5 separate regions of the Homo sapiens genome follow, and all the other regions are linked to region 1. Evidence: promoter capture Hi-C in 16 types of primary human blood cells and fetal thymus (Javierre and others, 2016). All regions are on one chromosome and are shown on one strand. The core of a region is centred on a gene start or on the middle of the fragment in contact, and the rest is flanking DNA. Distances in the headings are between cores, read along the strand shown. Region 1 holds the start of NKX3-1 (NK3 homeobox 1). Region 2 overlaps ENTPD4-DT (ENTPD4 divergent transcript). Region 3 has its middle 25 kb from the start of SLC25A37. Region 4 overlaps ENTPD4-DT (ENTPD4 divergent transcript). Region 5 overlaps ENTPD4 (ectonucleoside triphosphate diphosphohydrolase 4).

Region 1 (3,324 bases), core at 436-2,935:
AGTACAGGTATGGGTAGTAAGGATAGCTGTTATACACGGAGACCAGGGAGGCCCGGGAGAAGGCCTCCTCTTTCAGGGCCGGCAAAGAGGAGTGCTTCTCCAAGTCTCCCAGCTCCGAGGAGAGCTGCTTTCGCTTAGTCTTATAGCGTCTGTTCTGGAACCATATCTTCACTTGGGTCTCCGTGAGCTTGAGGTTCTTGGCCAGGTGGGCCCGTTCAGGGGCCGACAGGTACTTCTGATGGCTGAACTTCCTCTCCAACTCGATCACCTGAGTGTGGGAGAAGGCAGCTCGGGAGCGCTTCTGCGGCTGCTTAGGGGTTTGGGGAAGCCTTGGAAGGGCGCCTGAAGTGTTTTCAGAGTCCAACAGATAAGACCCCAAGTGCCTTTCTGGAAAGGAGAGTGGGGAAGGAGGGATGGGAAGACAAAAGTTACATGTTAGCAGGGAAGAGAACAGAATTCAATCCACCCTTATCTCTTTAGTGAGTGAACAAACAGCCCACTGTCATCGTGGATACATTTCACTTTTTTCACATGACTAAGGAGCTCTCCGGAGTGAAGAGTGAGTAAATATGTTTATTACGCATTCATTTGCTAAGAATCATCAAGAACCCAAAGTTAGAGACGTTTCGTGGTTGAACTTTCTCCCTACTGTCTAGTAGAATTATATGGGGATTCTGGATCTGTGTGCTGAGGAGAGGCGGGAGAGGGAGGCAGGGAAAATGCCGTGGAACAAGATACCCGGGAAGGCCAGACCAAAAGACATCCGGTGTTAGGATCCAGGTGGGCAAGAGAGGGCTTGTGCCACTGGAGACGCAGAGGCAGGCTCATTCTGGGCTTTAATTCCCTCTTCGCTAAACGAGGCGTTCGGTCGCCTCATCAGAAGTGACAGGAAAGAAAATAAGTGGACTCTCTCTCCTGGACACCGGAGGGAACCCCGAATATACCGCTTTACTGCCCACGGGATTGGGAAGCACACGGAGGCTTTGCTGGTCAACCCCTGCTTTGTCACTGTTAATAAGTTATTATTAGTTCTCATAACTACCGGGGGGCTGGCGCCGATCGCGGGTGGCGCGGGGCGGGATCCGCTCCTGGGACGGTGGAGGGCGGTGGCGCTGCAGTCGCGCCGGCTTCTGAGCCCCAGGGAGCGGAGGGCACGGAGCCGGGCGAGTCCTGCGGTGTCAGAATCCTGCGCCGCCCTGACGCTGGGGCTCAGGGTTCATTCCGGGGGCGCGCGCGTGGCTGCGGAGGCGGGAAGGTCCCTCTGCCTGTCGCCGCGGAGCCCCGCGTCCCTGCACCCCGAGCTCTGGGGGTCCGCCTTGGGCTGCCCCCCTTCCCCGGCCTCGCCGCTTACCTGGCTCGGTCTCTGCCAGCGTCTCGGCCTCCTCCGGCGCGGCGCGGGGCCCGGTGCTCAGCTGGTCGTTCTGCGCCCCGGCGCGGCTGCGTCCTCCCTCTGGCTCTGGCTCTGGCTCCGGCTCCGGGTCGCGCTGTCTCTGGCTGCTCGTGCGGCCGCCTTGCCGCTGCGCGCCGTCCCGCAGGATGTCCTGGATGAGGAAGGACGTGAGCGGCTTGGACGGGGTCGGCGGCGCGGCCCCCTCCGCTTTCGCCTCCCCGGGCCGCGGCTCCGGAACCCTGAGCATCCCGGCGGCCCCGCCTTGGCCTGAATGCACCCGCCCGGCCCGCACCGCTTTCACTTTCCGCCTCCCGGCTCGCTTATAGCCCAGGGGAGCGGGCCGCGCCGCCCTCCCATTGGCCGCGGGACGGGCCGCGCCGCGGATTGGCCGCCCTGAGCCCCAGGTGACCCCGCCGATCTGCGAGCCCTGAGCACTGCCCCGCTCCGCTCCTCCCTAGGGGATTCCTTCCCCAGTTCCCTCTCCTTCCCCAATTCCCTCTCCTTCCCCAATTTCCTCTCCTTCTCCAGCTCTCCTCCCTCCGCCCTGAGCCGTTTTCCCAGGCCAGGAGCGCACCCCAAAGCGGGGCTCCTCTGCCCCAACCCACCCGCAACAGAGAGAAGCTCCTGGGGATGGGACGATCAAGACAAACAGTCCAGTTAGCTCTTCAGGACCGTCAGAGCCAATTACAGGGGATGAGCACGCAGTCACTGCAGCCGCGCGGTACCGTGAGAGTTCTGGGTGCTCTCTCTCTCTGGGAGAGATGGTGCAAACTCAGATCTGCAATATCTACGACCTCAAAGAGGCATGACAAGTAGGTGCAGCCAGACCCCAGGCTGAAAGAAGGAAAACACCTTTGCCAAAGCCTTTTCCCGTTGCAGAAGTGGTTTTCTTTGGTGGTTCCTTTATCCGCAATAACCTGTTAACTTTCCTTCCTCCCCAGACACATGACATACCATCCTTTTGAAAAGTTTCCAGACGGATGGAAGGCGTTTTAGGCCAGGACAAATGCAAAAACTGCATTTAAAAAAGTAGTTCAAAAGAACATCAGCATACTCTTTTTGCAGATTACCAACTGTTAACATGTAACCCATTGGCTAAACAATGGGTTAGCCAGATTGGTCCAACCGGTACTGTGACTGGACTGGACGGTACCGTGACAACAGACGAAAGTGGAACAGAGATGATGGAAGTATTTTCTTTCCTTGTCTTTTCTCTTCTTTTTTTTACGGACAGGGTCTCCCTCTGCCGCCCAGGCTGGAGTGCAGTGATGCCATCATAACTCACTGCAGCCTCGATTTCCTGGATTCAAGTGATCCTCCTGCCTTGGCCTCTCAAAGTGCCAGGACTACAGGCATGAGTCTCAGTGTCAGGTCGATGATGGAAGTATTGAATTAATGTTAAATTTACTGAAATTGCACATTGTACTGTCAGTGTACAAGAGAATATTTTTAGGAAATAAACACTGAAGTAAGTAGGAGCAAAGGCACAAGATTTATGAAACTTACATCAAATGGTTCTGAAACAAGGATGCAGATTGATAGATCCCACGCCATAAAGCCGATGGGTTAAATGGTAACAGTTGGTAATCTGGAAAAAGGGTAGGCTGATGTTTTTTAGAACCATTTTTTTAATGCAACTTTTTTGTCTGTCCTGGTCTAAGACGGCTTCTATTCAACTGGCAACTTTTCAAAAGGATGGTATGTCATGTGTCTCTGGAGGAAGGAAAGTTAATAGGTTATTGCTGATAAAGCGACCGCCAAAGAAAACTACCTGTGCAACGGGAAAGACTTTGGCAAAGCTGGTTTTCTTCTCTCATCTTTTCAAAGTCTCTTTATATTAGAACATTCTTTAATGTTTTCTTTTGAATCATTGTAGATTCACAGGAAGTTGCAAAAATAATACCTCCAGTGTCCTCCAAAGACATCTATACAAC
Region 2 (3,646 bases), core at 753-3,252, 200 kb before region 1:
AGACGCCGCAATTATTTTAAAATAAAAAAATACCTACTCTATGGAAGGGAGATTGATGAGTTGAGTTTCTCTCTTCCTGGGGTTGGGTGGAGACAGGACTGATAAACTGCTGTCCTTATTCAAGGGCCTCAAGGCCCTACCCCCAGAGTAGAGGCTCCCTCGTTCCGAGTTGTCACATAAAACAAACTCCCTCCAGCCAGATGCAGCCTGGGCCCTTGAAAGCTCAGCTCAGGATGTGGGTCTCTCCTAGGGTTGCTGGAGATCTTCAGGAAGATAGGGAGTGGCCTTCTCTCAGCACTTTCTTCCCCAGCCTGCTCCAGCCACAAAAGTCCCCTGTCAGGTTCATTACCACCTTCTCCTATTCCCTTCCTGTGAATGCTTCTGTCAGCAGTTTTTTTGGTAATGATGATGGTGATGGGTGATAATAGCTTCCTGAGTTCTTATGACAGGCCAATCATGTTACACAGAGCATTTCTGAGAATCTTCACAACGTTCAGTATGTACACACCTTATGAGACATGCACAGTTCTCCTCATTTTACGGAGGAGAAAGCTGAGATTTAGAGATAAATTGATTTCCTCCAGATCACATTGACAGTTACTGGCAGATCTAACTGACTAGCTCCAAGTCCTTGCTCTTAACCCTGTCTTGATGTCTTAACCCTCCACTTGAACTCTAGCCTGTAATGCTGTCTTCTCCTCCTGCAGGAACCAGCCCATTATTTAAGGTGGACATGACTTTTTTTTTTTTTTCCCCAGGCTGGAATGCAGTGGTGCGATCGCGATCTCGGCTTATTGCAACTTCTGCCTCCTGGGTTCAAGCAATTCTCCTGCCTCAGCCTCCTGAGTAGCTGGGATTACTGGCATGCGCCACCATGCCTGGCTAATTTTTGTTTGCTTGTTTTTGTTTTTTGTTTTTTGTTTTTTTGAGACTGAGATTTGCTCTTGTTGCCCAGGCTAGATTACAGTGGTGCGATCTTGGCTCACCACAACCTCCACCTCCCGGGTTCAAGCAATTCTCCTGCCTCAGCCTTCCTGAGTAGCTGGAATTACAGGCATGCGCCACCATGCCCAGCTAATTTTGTATTTTTAGTAGAGATGGGGTTTCTCCATGTTGGTCAGGCTGGTCTCGAACTCCTGACCTCAGATGATCCCCCAGCCTCGGCCTTCCAAAGTGTTGGGATTATAGGCGTGAGCCACTGCGCCTGGCCTGTTTTTGTTTTTTTTTGAAATGGAGTCTTGCTCTGTTGCCAGGCTGGAGTGCAGTGGTGCCATCTTGGCTCACTGCAACCTCTGTCTCCTGGGCTCAAGTGATTCTCCTGCCTCAGCCTCCCGAGCAGCTAGGACTACAGGCGCGCACCACCACACCCAGCTAAGTTTTGTATTTTTAGTAGAGACGGGGTTTCACCGTTGGCCAGGATGGTCTCGATCTCTTAACCTCCTGATTAGCCCGCCTCGGCCTCCCAAAGTTCTAGGATTATAGGCGTGAGTCACCGCGCTGGGCCTAATCTTTTATTTTTAGTAGAGATGGGGTTTCGCCATGTTGGCCAGGCTGGTCTCAAACCCCTGACCTCAAGTGATCTGCCTGCCTCGGCCTCTCAAAGTGCTGGGATTACCAGCATGAGCCACTGCGCCCGGCTTGGACGTGACTTTCTTATATCATTCTCCAGCCATCATTCTCCAGGTACCCTTCTTCCTGTACCTCCCTGAGATCTGGGGCAGCAGTTTCAGTAGCGTGTGTGTGTGTGTGTGTGTGTGTGTGTGTGTGTGTGTGTACACCTCTGTATTTCATATACACACTCCAATTATAGCTTCCCATTATCCACTGAATGACATTTAAAGGATGAAATTGAAGTGACTTGGACAAAAGTCATAAAGCTTCTGTGCACAAAATACATATTTGTTGTTGTCTGTATAGGTGTCTCATGTGGGCAGAAGGTGCCCGACTTTTCCCTGTGTCAGCCTGCAGCACCTCAAGGAGTGCCTGGCACATCACGTGGACTCAATAAAAATTTTCTAAATAAATGAATGAAAGAAAAAACATGAATATTTTAATGATATCAGAATCTTAAAGTTTCAGTTTCTTCATCTGTAAAATAGGTATGATTATTTTCTCTCCCACTAGATTAAAAGCTTCTTAAGGGTGGGGAATGGATTGTATTCCGGGTCGTGTCCCTAACACCAGGCGCACTGCTAGGGACATAGGATGTACTCAATCAAAGTCAACTGGCCAAAGTGAATTCCCTGAAACTCCCAGGAGAGGTCTGAGAATGGAAGAAGTAAGGCCTAGAACATGCCCTGGACCCACCTTCCTTCCTTCCTCCCTCCTTCCCTCCCTCCCTGACTCTCTTTCTCCCTTTCTCCCTTCTTTCCCTTCCTTCCCTTTCTTCCCTTCCCTCCCTTCCCTCCCTTCCTTTCCTTTCTTTCTTTCCTTTCTTTCTTTATTTGCTTTCTTTCGACGGAGTCTTGCTCTGTTGCCCAGGCTGGAGTGCACTGGCGCGATCTCTGCTCACTGCAACCTTCACCACCTGTGTTCAAGCAATTCTCCTGCCTCAGCCTCCCGAGTAGCTGGGATTACAAGCATCCGCCACTACCCCTGGCTAATTTTTGTATTTTTTTTTTTTTAATAGAGACGGGGCTTTACCATGTTGGCCAGGATGGTCTTGAACTCCTGACCTCAGGTGATCCACCTGCGTCAGCCTCCCAAAGTGCTGGGATTACAGGCGTGAGCCCCTGGGCCCAGCCGCCCTGCACATTTCTTAGAGAAGAGCATTTTGGTGTTAAATTATTGAAATGAATTGTATTATCTGCCCCCTTACTGCAGAGTCTCATGTGCGAAGTCCAGGGAAAAGTGGTCCCTGGAACCCAAAACCAAGCCTTGTGGATCCCAAAGCCAATTTCCTCATTCCTACTGGTTTCCTTCTTATTCTGCCTCCATTAAAATGTCAGATGCCTCCATTGTGATCATTATCTCACTGCTTATTATCAGGGATAAGCAGAGCTTCACTGAGTGCAGGTAGAAGGCACAGGATTAACACCTGGAAGGGGGCCTGCTTCAGGAGTTGGAAGAAACGCCTGCCAAACCTCACCTGTCAGCCAGGGCCACGCGGCCAGAAGCTGTTTTCTGAGCTCACCTAGGCATTAGCACCTTGGTTGTTGACCCCTGGGAGGAGATTTCTTAAAAGTACCTTGCAACCATTTTATCCCTTTGCCATTATTTTTTTTCCAGGGGTGAGAGGAGAATTCTGCCCCCATAGCTTGTCAACATCTCTTCAGCTTGGTGGCCCACCCAGTCCACCCAGCAGAGCGACCTGCCCCACACCAGTGGCTCGCATGGGCCTTCTTATCTCCTTGGCCCAGCTGAATCTTGGTGAGCTGGTAGCGAGTTATGATCTGGGCATCCTGGAGGAGCCAGCTTCCAGGGTAGCATCAATTGCTGGGAGGGGTCTGTGGTCTGGAAGTCACATCTAGAGGTATGCAGCAAAGCCAGGTCAAGGCAAACACTATTGCCTTGTAGTTGCCTGAAGGGATAATCAGCGTGGCAGGAGGGTGTGGGAGGAAAAGGGAATAGTGGCCCCGCCCATTTCACCTTGGTGCCAGGGTGGAGTTCACAGACTAATTACAGGTTAAGGAGCTTAAGGCTTTCC
Region 3 (3,624 bases), core at 581-3,080, 180 kb before region 1:
CTGGGAACTGATCACTATCAGATGGCTTCTGTTCCAGCTCCTCTAGACCTGGCACTGTGCAAGGTACTGAACTGTGAATCAAGTCCAATACAATTGCGATCCCACCCTCTGGTTTCCAATAAACATAAGTTCCAGGCACAGGTGCCCAAGAGCTGGCCAATAACACCATGGTATTGAGAAACTCTCAGTCTTTTGGAACAGGCTCTGTTTTCTTCTCCGCTTCTCTTCCCTATTTCCCTCCCCTGTCCTCCCCATCCCCCACCTACAGATAGGCCTGAAACCAATACAGTTTTCAAGAGGAGAGCCTTTTTTTTTAAGAAAAAAAAAAAAAAAAGTTTAAAATTAAGAAATCAAAGACCAGGTGCGGTGGCTCATGCCTCTAATCCCAGTACTTTGGGAGGCCGAGGCAGGCGGATCACGAGGTCAAGAGATCAAGACCATCCTGACCAACATGGTGAAACCCCATCTCTACTAAAAAAAAATACAAAAAAAAGAAAAAAAAAAAAACTACTCGGGAGGCTGAGGCAGGAGAATTGTTTGAACTTGGGAGGCAGAGGTTGCAGTGAGCTGAGATCATGCCACTATGCTCCAGCTTGGGTGACAGAGTGAGATTCTGTCTCAAAAAAAAAAAAAAATTAAGAAATCAAATTTAAGTATAGGACCTTGAAAGGGATCATGTATGTAAGGGGTCTGAGCTTAAGCTTCATATGCTTCATGGTAAATCTACCTCTAATTCTGACTTTGGTTTCTCTCATTTGCATGAATTTTCTTTTAGGTTTTTTTTTTTTTTTTTTTTTGCATATTTCTTTCGTTTTTTCTTTTGAGACAGATTCTCACTCTGTTGTGCAGGTTGGAGTGCAGTGGCATGATCTTGGCTCACTGCAACCTCTGCCTCCTGGGTTCAAGCGATTCTCCTGCCTCACCCTCCCAACTAGGTGGGACTACAGGCGTGCGCCACCACACCCAGCTAATTTTTGTGTTTTTAGTAGAGACGGGGGTTTTTACCATGTTGCCCGGGCTAGTCTCAAACTTCTCAAGTGATCCGCCCACCTCAGCCTCCCAAAGTGCTGGGATTACAGGCATGAGCCACTGTGCCCAGCCCGCATATATATTTCTAAACTGTGTGAAATATTGCCTTACAGATTTTAAACCAGTATGTAAATGGCACCCTGACATTTTAACACAATTTGTTTTTTACACTCAATTCTTTACTTGGGAAATATATCCATGTTGATATACTAAGATTTGGTTTCTTTTCATTGCTATGTAATATTCCATTGTGTGACTACCAGAATCACTCTATTCTCCTGTTGCAGTTTTTCAGTAAAAATAGCAGGTTATAAGACAGAAGCAGGATGTAAACACACACACACATTTTCGTGCTGTAGGGCAGTTAAATTAGCCCCATTTTGTTGTAATATTAGAATAGAATTAGGTCAATAAAACATTATTCCAAAAAAAAAAATCCAGAAACAACACTACAAAAATGGAATGTGATGCAGGCAACGTTTCGAATCAGTGAGGGAATATGGACTATTTAATAAATGGTATTGGCCGGGTGTGGTGGCTCATGCCTGTAATCCCAGCACTTTGGGAGACTGAGGCGGGTGGATTACCTGAGGTCGGGGGTTCAAGACCAGCCTGGCCAACATGGTGAAACCCCATCTCTACTAAAAATACAAAAATTAGTCTGGCATGGTGGCAGGCGCCTGTAATCCCAGCTACTCGGGAGGCTGAGGCAGGATCATCACTTGAGCCCGGGAGGCGGAGGTTGCAGTGAGCCGAGATCACGCCATTACACTCCAGCCTGGGCAACAGATTGAGACTCCGTCTCCAAAAAAATAAAAATAAAAATAAATAAATAAATAAATAAATAAATAAGTGGTATTGACAGAATCAACTCTGTGTACACAAAATAAATAAAACTAAGTCGCTACCTTATGTGGTACACAAAATTATACTACAGATGAATTAAAAACCTAGCCCTTCAATATAAAAATTTCAAATTGTTAGCTAAAAATGTATAAGAAAATACTATGATCCCAAGTAAATGGAGATCTTAAATAAGTCACAGAAAATAAAACTCATGCAGTAAAAGGCTGAACATTTTAATTAGGTCAGTGAATAAATGTCATCCAAATAGTAAAAAAGGAACCATACAATAAGATACCCCAATGTTAAAGACAAGCTGAGGGCTGGGAGAAAACTTTGCAATGTATGTTTCAAAGAATGAGTAAAACAGATGAATTTTTAAAAAAGCCCTTTAGAAAAATGATCTAAGGGATGGGCACAGTGGCTTACACCAGTAATCCCAGCACTTTGGGAGGCCGAGGCTGGTGGATCACCTGAGGTAAGGAGTTCAAGACTAGCCTGACCAACATGGTGAAACCCTGTCTCTACTAAAAATACAAAAATTAGCTGGGCGTAGTGGTGGGCACCTGTAATCCCAGCTACTCGGGAGGCTGAGGCACGAGAATTGCATGAACCTGGGAGGCGGAGGTTGCAATGAGTGGAGATCTCACCATTGTACTTCACCCTGGGCAATGGATCGAGACTCCGTCTCAAAAAAAAAAAAAAGAAGAAGAAAGAAAAATGATCTGTGGATATGCATAGGCAATTCACAAAAGGGGAAATACACATGGCCACAAACACATAAGAAGATGCTCAAACACATTTTTTATCAGGCAAATACCAATGAAAACAATGGCGAGATACTGTTTACACTTACTCAGCTGGCTACCTTGAAAGATCTGGTAGGTGAAGGGTTGTCAAGATCGCAGGGGAACAGGAACGTTCATACTCTGTTTTCATATTTAAAATGGCGAGGACAATTTGGGCATACCTCAGACCCACAATTTCCTCTCACAGGAATTTAGAATAGAGAAAGGGAAAACACAGACGTTTACTGCAGTGTTGTTTGTAGTAGTGAAAAGTTGTTAATGATATTAACTGTCCGCTAAAAGCTTAAGAGGTCAAATAAAATATGGTATATCCATATAATGGAATGTTATTCAACACACAAAAATCCTTATATATATTATTTATATGTGAAATTATATATGTGTATACATATATATACATGAATGCATATGAAATTCTGGAAGGAAACACTTCAAACTCCCAAGAGCGGTTGGGCACCAGAATAGCAGGGAAGGGTTTGGAACTGTGGGAGGTGGTCAATGGGTAATTTAGTTTTGTATATGATGCCTGCTTTTGTTTAAAAGGGGCATGTATTTGTGTATCTCTTTTTCAATCAAAAATAATTTAAAATATAAAAGACTGGAAGGATGCATTGTACGTTCACAGTCCTATCTCTTGGGAACGAAATTATCAGTGACTTTTAGCTTGTTCTTTTTTCTTATCTGCATTTTCTAAAATTTCCACAATGTTTGTCTACCACATTTGTAATAAGAAAACTGTTATTTTTTAAGGATTATGGAAAGTTTAAAAAATTCTCAAAAAGTTAGTTTTAGGTTATCTTAAATATACTACCACTCTCTCCTCCATCACTTAGATAAACAGCACTGTATTTGGGAGGGGTGGCCGGTTTTTTATTTTTTTGAAGTTTGAGACAAGGTCTTGCTCTGTCACCTAGGCTGGAGTGCAGAGGCACAATCATGGCTC
Region 4 (3,496 bases), core at 799-3,298, 220 kb before region 1:
GGTGTGAGCCACCATGCCCGGCCTCTTTCTTCTTAAGAAACAAAACATAAGGACCAGGCACAGGGGCTCATGCCTATAATCCCAGCACTTTGGGAGGTGAAAGTGGGAGGATTGCTCGAGCCCAGGAGTTTGAGGCTGCAGTGAGCTGTGATCGCACCACTGCACTCCATCCTGGGTGACAGAGCAAGATCCTGTCTCCAAAGAAAACTTAAAAAAAAAAAAATCAAACATAAGATAGAAGACCTCTTTCCTTCTCTTGTTGAACTTGAGATTTCTTTGTAACAGTGTATATGGGAATGTTGATGAATGGAGTAGGGCAGATGAACAACCATCAATATCTAAAACCCAATTATGATTTCTCTTTAATTATCTTTCTAGAAAACCCTCTAACATGGCAATTGCTTGAAATTCTGCTCTCCAAATGTTTTAATCCATCATTCCAAGGAAGCTAAATTGGCTCACCTGTCCCTCCTGGCTGTGTGTGGGTGTTTGGGGAAGGTAACCATGCTAGATGTCAGGAAACAAAGGAATCCTGCAGCGCTTGGAAATGGGGAGTTCTCTTACTCTTCCTTGGACCTGTTTGCTTTCCAAGACATTCATGCACAGACTATTTTTGAGTGGCTTGGCTAATAATCCTATATATTTACACAGCCTTTGTCTTCAGGAAATCATGTCACTTTACAGGCATGGTCTCATTTATGAGCCCAGCATTCCTAAGGCAAAGGGATTTTTATTTCATGGTGTTTTGTTGTGGAGAGAAAGAGAAAGTGACTTGTTCAAAGCAACATCAAAATCCAGGGTTTCCTCCAAATTTTTTTAAAAATTATTTATTTATTTATTTTTTGAGACCAAGTTTCACTCTTGTTGTCCAGGCTGGAGTGCAATGGCGCGATCTTGGCTCACCATAACCTCTGCCTTCTGGGTTCAAGCGATTCTCCTGCCTCAGCCTCCCGAGTAGCTGGGATTACAGGCATGCGCCACCACGCTGGGCTAATTGTTATGTATTTTTAGTAGAGACGGGGTTTCTCTATGTTGGTCAGGCTGGTTTCGAACTCCCGACCTCAGGTGATCTGTCCGCCTTGGCCTCCCAAAGTGCTTGGATTACAGGCGTGAGCCACAACGTCTGGCCCTAAATCCTGGGTTTACTCCAAACTTTTCTCATCAAAGCAGAGTGATCAAACTGTACCATAAAGGAGTCACATGGGAGATGGGTAATTGAACACACAAACACATGCACACACACACACACACACAAAACACACACACACGTAGGCAGCAGACATAGTTGCTTTTGCTGCTCGGGCCCCATCACTCTAGTTTTGGTAACAGTACCTCAGATTTCTGAAGGAATATACTCAGGTCATATTTGGTCCATTTGGGTCAGAAATTATGACCCTGGCCTGGTTAAGCAAGGTAATTTTGTCTCCTGATCATGATGACTGGCACGAGTCAATGTTGTTCTGATTAGATAAAAGCTCCATTTTTCAATATCAGCTTCATCTGTGATAAAGATGATACTTTGGTTTGTAAACCCAGAAAATCAGAGACAAGTCTCAGTTAATTTAGAAAGTTTATTTTGCCAAGGTTGAGGATGTGCGCCCATGGCACAGCCTCAGGAAATCCTGACGCCATGTGCCCAAGGTGGCTGGGGCACCGCTTCATTTTATACATTTTAGGGAGACATGAGACATCAATCAATATATGTAAGACATACATTGGTTCCATCCAGAAAGGTGGGGACAACTCAAAGCAAGGAGGGGTCTTCCAGATCACTGGTAGGTGAGAGAAAAGGGGTTGCATTCTTTTGAGTTTCTGATAAGCCTTTCTAAAGGAGGCAATCAGAATATGCCTCTATGTCAGTGAGCAGAGGGATGACTTTGAGTAGAATGGGAGGCAGGTTTGCCCTGAGCAGTTTCCAGCTTGAATTTTCCCTTTGGCTTAGTGATTTTGGGGCCCCAAGATATTTTCCTTTCACAGGTTTTCATATAGTTTTTGTTTCATTTCTAAAATTATTCAGACTTAAGCAGGAAGCAGTGGGTAGTTTATTGGACACCTTAAACCTCTCTCTGTTCCTTTCTCACACCAGATAACATACCATTCTTCCTCTCACCATCCTTCCCTACTGCACCATCACCTTTAAGTTAAGGTTGAAATTCCTGAGCAAATCAACTGCAAATCGATGAGGTGACCAGATGTCATGGACAGGATGGCTTCACACTAGTCTCCTTGGCATGACACCCCAAGGCCATGGTTAAGTTGCTTTCAACTTTTAAGCCTGATGTCCAGACACTTCCCTATATATATTTTCGCTGTGTTCTAACATGTTTAATGGACTATTTGCTTGTTTCCCAATTGTGCCTTCTTTTCTTTTCTTTTCTTTTTTTTTTTTTTTGAGATGGAGTTTCACTCTTGTTGCTCAGGCTGGAGTGCAGTGGTGTGATCTCGGCTCACTGCAACCTCTGCCTCCCGGGTTCAAGCAATTCTTCTGCCTCAGCCTCCCGAGCAGCTGGGACTACAGGCACGTGCCACCATGCCTGGCTAATTTTTGTATTTTTAGTAGAGATGGGGTTTCACTATGTTGGTCAGGCTGGTCTCGAACTCCTGACCTCATGATCCGATCAGTGCAGGGCTTTTCTAAGTGCCAGCCATCTGTGACTGACTGCACAGGTCCCACGCCCTAGAAGCAGCTCTGTAGCTACCCCAGGAAAATGTAGCCCTATGGCCTTGACTGTAGAAGCCTCTGCTGTTGCCCAAGGCTGTGGGCTGGCCTGAGCAGCTGGGAGGATGAGTGGGGAGTGTGGGGCTTCAGGACAGAGCTTGAGCCTTGATACTTGCCTGACTTTCAGTCTTACAGAAACCACAGTATTACAGACTTTTCCATGTTGTTGTTACAAAGATATATAGATTTAATATATAGATTTAAAAATAAATGCAAAAAAGTAAAAATTAGAGGGGCTATAACATTTGATTTACTAGTTTATCTGAATTTATCATTTTAAACATCTTAAAACATGGGTGTGTCCTCTTAGCCCTGACCCTCCAAATGTTTGTGGCAATCCCAGAGTGGAGAACGCAGAAGGAATGAATAAACCTCCTGGAAGAGGTGGCATGAGATGTGACTGAAGACACAAAGAGAACGATAAATGTGAAGAGGAGGAAGGATTCCTCTTTTGTTAAAAAAAATTGTGGTAAAATACACATAACATAAAATTTACCATCTTAAATTTATTTATTTATTTATTTATTTATTTAGAGACAGAGTCTCTGTCACCCAGGCTGGAGTACAGTGGTACAATAGTAGCTCACTGTAACCTCAAACTCCTGGGCTCAAATGATCCTCATGCTCCAACCTCCCAAAGTGCTGGGATTACAGGCGTGAGCCACCGCACCCTGCCCATCTTGATCATTTTTAAGTGTACACTTCAGTAATGTTATGTGTATACATATTATTGTGCCACCAATCTCCAGAAGTTTTTCATCTTGCAAAACTGAAACT
Region 5 (3,414 bases), core at 457-2,956, 250 kb before region 1:
TAAGCCTGTGGAGGTCAGCATGAGAGGCGTACAGTCCTCGGTCAAAGCGTTCCCGCAAAATGGACCACTTTGTTGCACAATAATCCTGAAAACAAATTCACCAAAATAGATCACTAGTAAAGGCTTATTAAAATTCTCACTTTAAAAATGGTTTACCAAATTTATATTTGTAACAAGCATATCCTTCCCATTAGGAAACACACAAGCTTAACTTATACAACAAATGGCAAGACACACAAACACTCAGGGAATACTTACTGATTCGCAAACACAATGCCTTGCCTTAAAATTCTGTCCAGGGTATTGTTAAAGAGAGCTTTGCTGTCCACAACCAACCTCTCCAAAACTGTTTAGTTTCTCCCTCCATGACTGCATGGTACGGGCATACATTTTTGGAAAAGTGAAGCAGTATTTTAGCTACTTCAAACTAAGTCCTACATCTGTGGAGGACACAGTACAAGCTACTGGGATAATAACTGCAAAAGGTTTTTGTCTTTAACAGAAGGGAAAGAGATCCCACTTTTCTTGAAGTTATTTGTTATAATAACTTTTATTGAGCATTGTGTAAGTGTGTCTTCTCAATGTAATACTTAACTCCTCGAGGTGGCTACCATCCCGACCTCTATTTAAAGGATGAAGACACTGCTGAGAGGTGGGAGATGGGCCTGGGTGTGTGACAGGGAGCACAAGGAAAAAGCACTTGGCCTGGGGAACGGGCTCGGCATAGGCACTTCAGGAACATGGACATGGACACAGAGAAGTCGCGGAGAGCGTGAGGGAAGCCAGCTGTCTGACATGATTACAGCATACAGTGCTCTGCGCTTCGAGATGGGTTTGAGAAATACTTGGAAGATAAAATACCACACTTGTGACTGATTACACTGGGGTGTATAGGGAGAGATGAAATGGTTAGAGGGAGAAGTCCATGACTCCTAGGCTGCAGGGAAGGGGACTGGATGGTTGGCGATGCCATTAACCGAGAGAAGAACAGGAACAGAATGGAGAGAGGATGGTGGGTTTGTCTGGAGTTGTGGAATCTAGCAGGCAACCGGGCAGGGGTCAGGATTGGAGCCTCTTCTTGAGAGGCAGCAGCAAACCCTGAATATGGATGAGACCATCCAAGAACCTGAAGATCAGGGGCCAAGTGTGGAAGTCTGGCATCACCTAAGTTTAAGGGGTGTCAGGAAGGCAGAGAGAACACAAGAACAGGAGTATCCTGGCAGGTCAGGGAGGGGGAAGGCTAGTAGGAGAATTGTCACATGCAGCAAAGCACAAAAATGACATAAAAGACTGTAATTTGGAGCTAACTGATGACCAGGGTAGCTAATGGAGTGGTGCAGAAGTCAGCGTACAGTACATTTTTTACTTCTGCTGTGACTATTCAACCTCCCTCCAAGCAAAGGGAACAGGATCCCAACATGCTGCAGTGCAGCCTTCTATACTCCGTCTTTCCCTGTCAATGTGAAAGGAGGACATAACCCGTCACCGTCCACACTGGTCTCTCAAAAGCATGCAGAGCAGACGGCGTCTCTCAAGGGTACCTTTGCAGCTTTAGTAAATTTAGCAGCATTGTAGTCTCCCCCCATTCGTAACACATCCTCGGTGCAGTAGTAGAATTCGGAGAAGCCATAGAATTCACTGTTCTGGAAGTGAATTGGGGGCTGGTAGACCCCATTGAGGGAAGTCTGGGTCTCGTTTGTTTTATTCATGAAAGGCTGGATAGTCTCTCGACACAGGTCAAAGTCTCCAGTCCCTCGTAGGTATATGGTTTGTCCATTTTGCTGGATTTCATCTTTAATGTCTAGGGGTAGGCAGGGGTCCAAGTACGGCATATCAGGAGTCAGACCAGTCTGTTTACCCAGGAGCCTATGGCAAAACAAGAAACTTCATCGTGAGTCCTACAGAAAACTGTGTTTTCAGGAAGTGGCTGCAAACCAGTGTTTCTCAAAATACGCTCTGTGGGACATGAGACCTGCAGGACCGTGTCTGTGGAACAGAAAAGGGTTCCGAGATAATTAGTTAGGAAAATACACACTTGAGACTTTCTTGGAGAGTCAGGATACAAACTTGCCTGCAGCAGACAGGCTACCAGAGTCCAGTTGGATAACCTACCCGATTAGCCGACGATCCTGGCAACAAGGCCTGATGTTCCCAGCTGCTGGGCACAAGGCAACTGTGTTACCAGCCCCATTTTTGCACTAGTGCTTGTGGTTTTACCTAATACAGATGGAAGGAACGTGACTGTGACAAGATCCGGTCCTGGGCAAAGCAGGTTAGATGCTTTAGAAAAGTTACTAGAAAATTATCAAACTAGGTGTGGGTAGGATTTTTAAAACTGGGAAAAATTAGCAAACATCTAGAAGGATTTGGTATCAAATTGCCTTGCAAATCTCTTTTAAGTCCTCAGTATTCTTTAAACAAAGACAAACTGGTATCTCAATGAGGGGTGCAGTGCATGCCAAAGAAAGGATGGAGTCTAAAAACAGACCTTGGTTCAGAGGAAAAGATTAGCAAATGAATACAGAAGTTAAGACAGAATGTCTAAGGCTTGGCTCTATTTTTATCATTCTGTTTCAACTTATTTCTTTCCTTGATCAGCTATGGGTCCCAACTGCAGCAGACAGCAGTTTCCATTGTACAATGGGCTCTGAGATGCCCTGTAGAAAATAAACATTAATTTTGTTAACTGAAAGGCACTAGGCTTATTACTTGCTAATGAAATTTCTGGGAGTTAACATCTGTCATCCTATTGTGTGTGCATGCCTTCAAGCAACAAGAAACAGAGAAGAGCTCACAAAATCTCAAGTGATGTTGGTGTTGGATACTGTGAAATCACAGGGGCCTGACAGGTGTTGAACTGTTAAAGGGTTAAGCATGGTCAGAATTCAATATTCATCACCGACAGTCAAGTTTTCACTTTTCACTCAACTCACAAGTTGTGTATTCCTCAGATCAGGGTTACTCATCATGCAGTTGAATGTAATAAATTAAGGTCTTTGCCATAAAAATGTTCGCTTAATTTAAAAAAATTAATCACCACTACAAATGGCGAAGAGATAAATGTGTACTTCAATGCTCAATTCATGACATATGAAACACCTGTAATTACTATAAAAGTCCAAGAGTAGTCAAATATATATTTCATGCTATTATTTTTAGTTGTCCTATATCTAAATTAAGAAGTACCACTAAACTATCCATTATATAAAGCTTTCTGACATTAAAACCAATGAGTAAAAATTAAGGTTTCGGAAAAAATATGTTACAAATGTTGTCTATAAAATATTTCTAGTTTAAGACTACTATAAAAATGATTATACCAAAATGTGCTAAATACCAATTAAAAATACAAAATCATGGGACTACCAATCTTATAATTAAAACTATTCAGTTAACTTTTGGAAGAGACACAGG

Evidence for each region. The method cuts DNA at HindIII sites, captures the fragments that hold promoters and counts their contacts. A CHiCAGO score of 5 or more calls a contact.
Region 2: a fragment that was not itself captured here is called in contact with the fragment with the promoter of NKX3-1 in region 1 in 13 of 17 cell types (M2 macrophages, M0 macrophages, M1 macrophages and 10 more); the score reaches 15.2 in M2 macrophages.
Region 3: a fragment that was not itself captured here is called in contact with the fragment with the promoter of NKX3-1 in region 1 in 2 of 17 cell types (naive CD8 T cells and M2 macrophages); the score reaches 5.5 in naive CD8 T cells.
Region 4: a contact is called between a fragment that was not itself captured here and the fragment with the promoter of NKX3-1 in region 1, in 16 of 17 cell types (neutrophils, monocytes, M0 macrophages and 13 more). The highest score is 22.8, in neutrophils.
Region 5: a fragment that was not itself captured here is called in contact with the fragment with the promoter of NKX3-1 in region 1 in 2 of 17 cell types (neutrophils and erythroblasts); the score reaches 7.4 in neutrophils.

Annotation. Positions count from the first base shown.
Region 1 is chr8:23,681,253-23,684,576 of GRCh38, forward strand. It overlaps NKX3-1 (NK3 homeobox 1), which reads right to left and starts at 1,686. Exons shown (of 2, transcript NM_006167.4): 1 at 1,352-1,686; 2 at 1-387. The coding sequence starts at 1,637. The region is part of intron 3 of LOC107986930 (a long non-coding RNA gene); the gene reads left to right. RefSeq lists silencers at 1,268-1,317, 1,358-1,867. The HindIII fragment of the contact is 16,626 bases long and covers 1-3,324 here.
Region 2 is chr8:23,483,712-23,487,357 of GRCh38, forward strand. All of the region lies in intron 3 of ENTPD4-DT (ENTPD4 divergent transcript), which reads left to right. It also overlaps the pseudogene LOC646708. Among named protein-coding and RNA genes, the nearest start is that of ENTPD4-DT, 28 kb to the left of the region's middle. The HindIII fragment of the contact is 255 bases long and covers 1,876-2,130 here.
Region 3 is chr8:23,502,583-23,506,206 of GRCh38, forward strand. No RefSeq gene overlaps it. Among named protein-coding and RNA genes, the nearest start is that of SLC25A37, 25 kb to the right of the region's middle. The HindIII fragment of the contact is 2,262 bases long and covers 700-2,961 here.
Region 4 is chr8:23,463,205-23,466,700 of GRCh38, forward strand. All of the region lies in intron 2 of ENTPD4-DT (ENTPD4 divergent transcript), which reads left to right. Among named protein-coding and RNA genes, the nearest start is that of ENTPD4-DT, 7.2 kb to the left of the region's middle. The HindIII fragment of the contact is 5,931 bases long and covers 1-3,496 here.
Region 5 is chr8:23,435,393-23,438,806 of GRCh38, forward strand. ENTPD4 (ectonucleoside triphosphate diphosphohydrolase 4) reads right to left here. Exons shown (of 13, transcript NM_004901.5): 10 at 1,542-1,866; 11 at 1-85. Among named protein-coding and RNA genes, the nearest start is that of ENTPD4, 21 kb to the right of the region's middle. The HindIII fragment of the contact is 3,004 bases long and covers 205-3,208 here.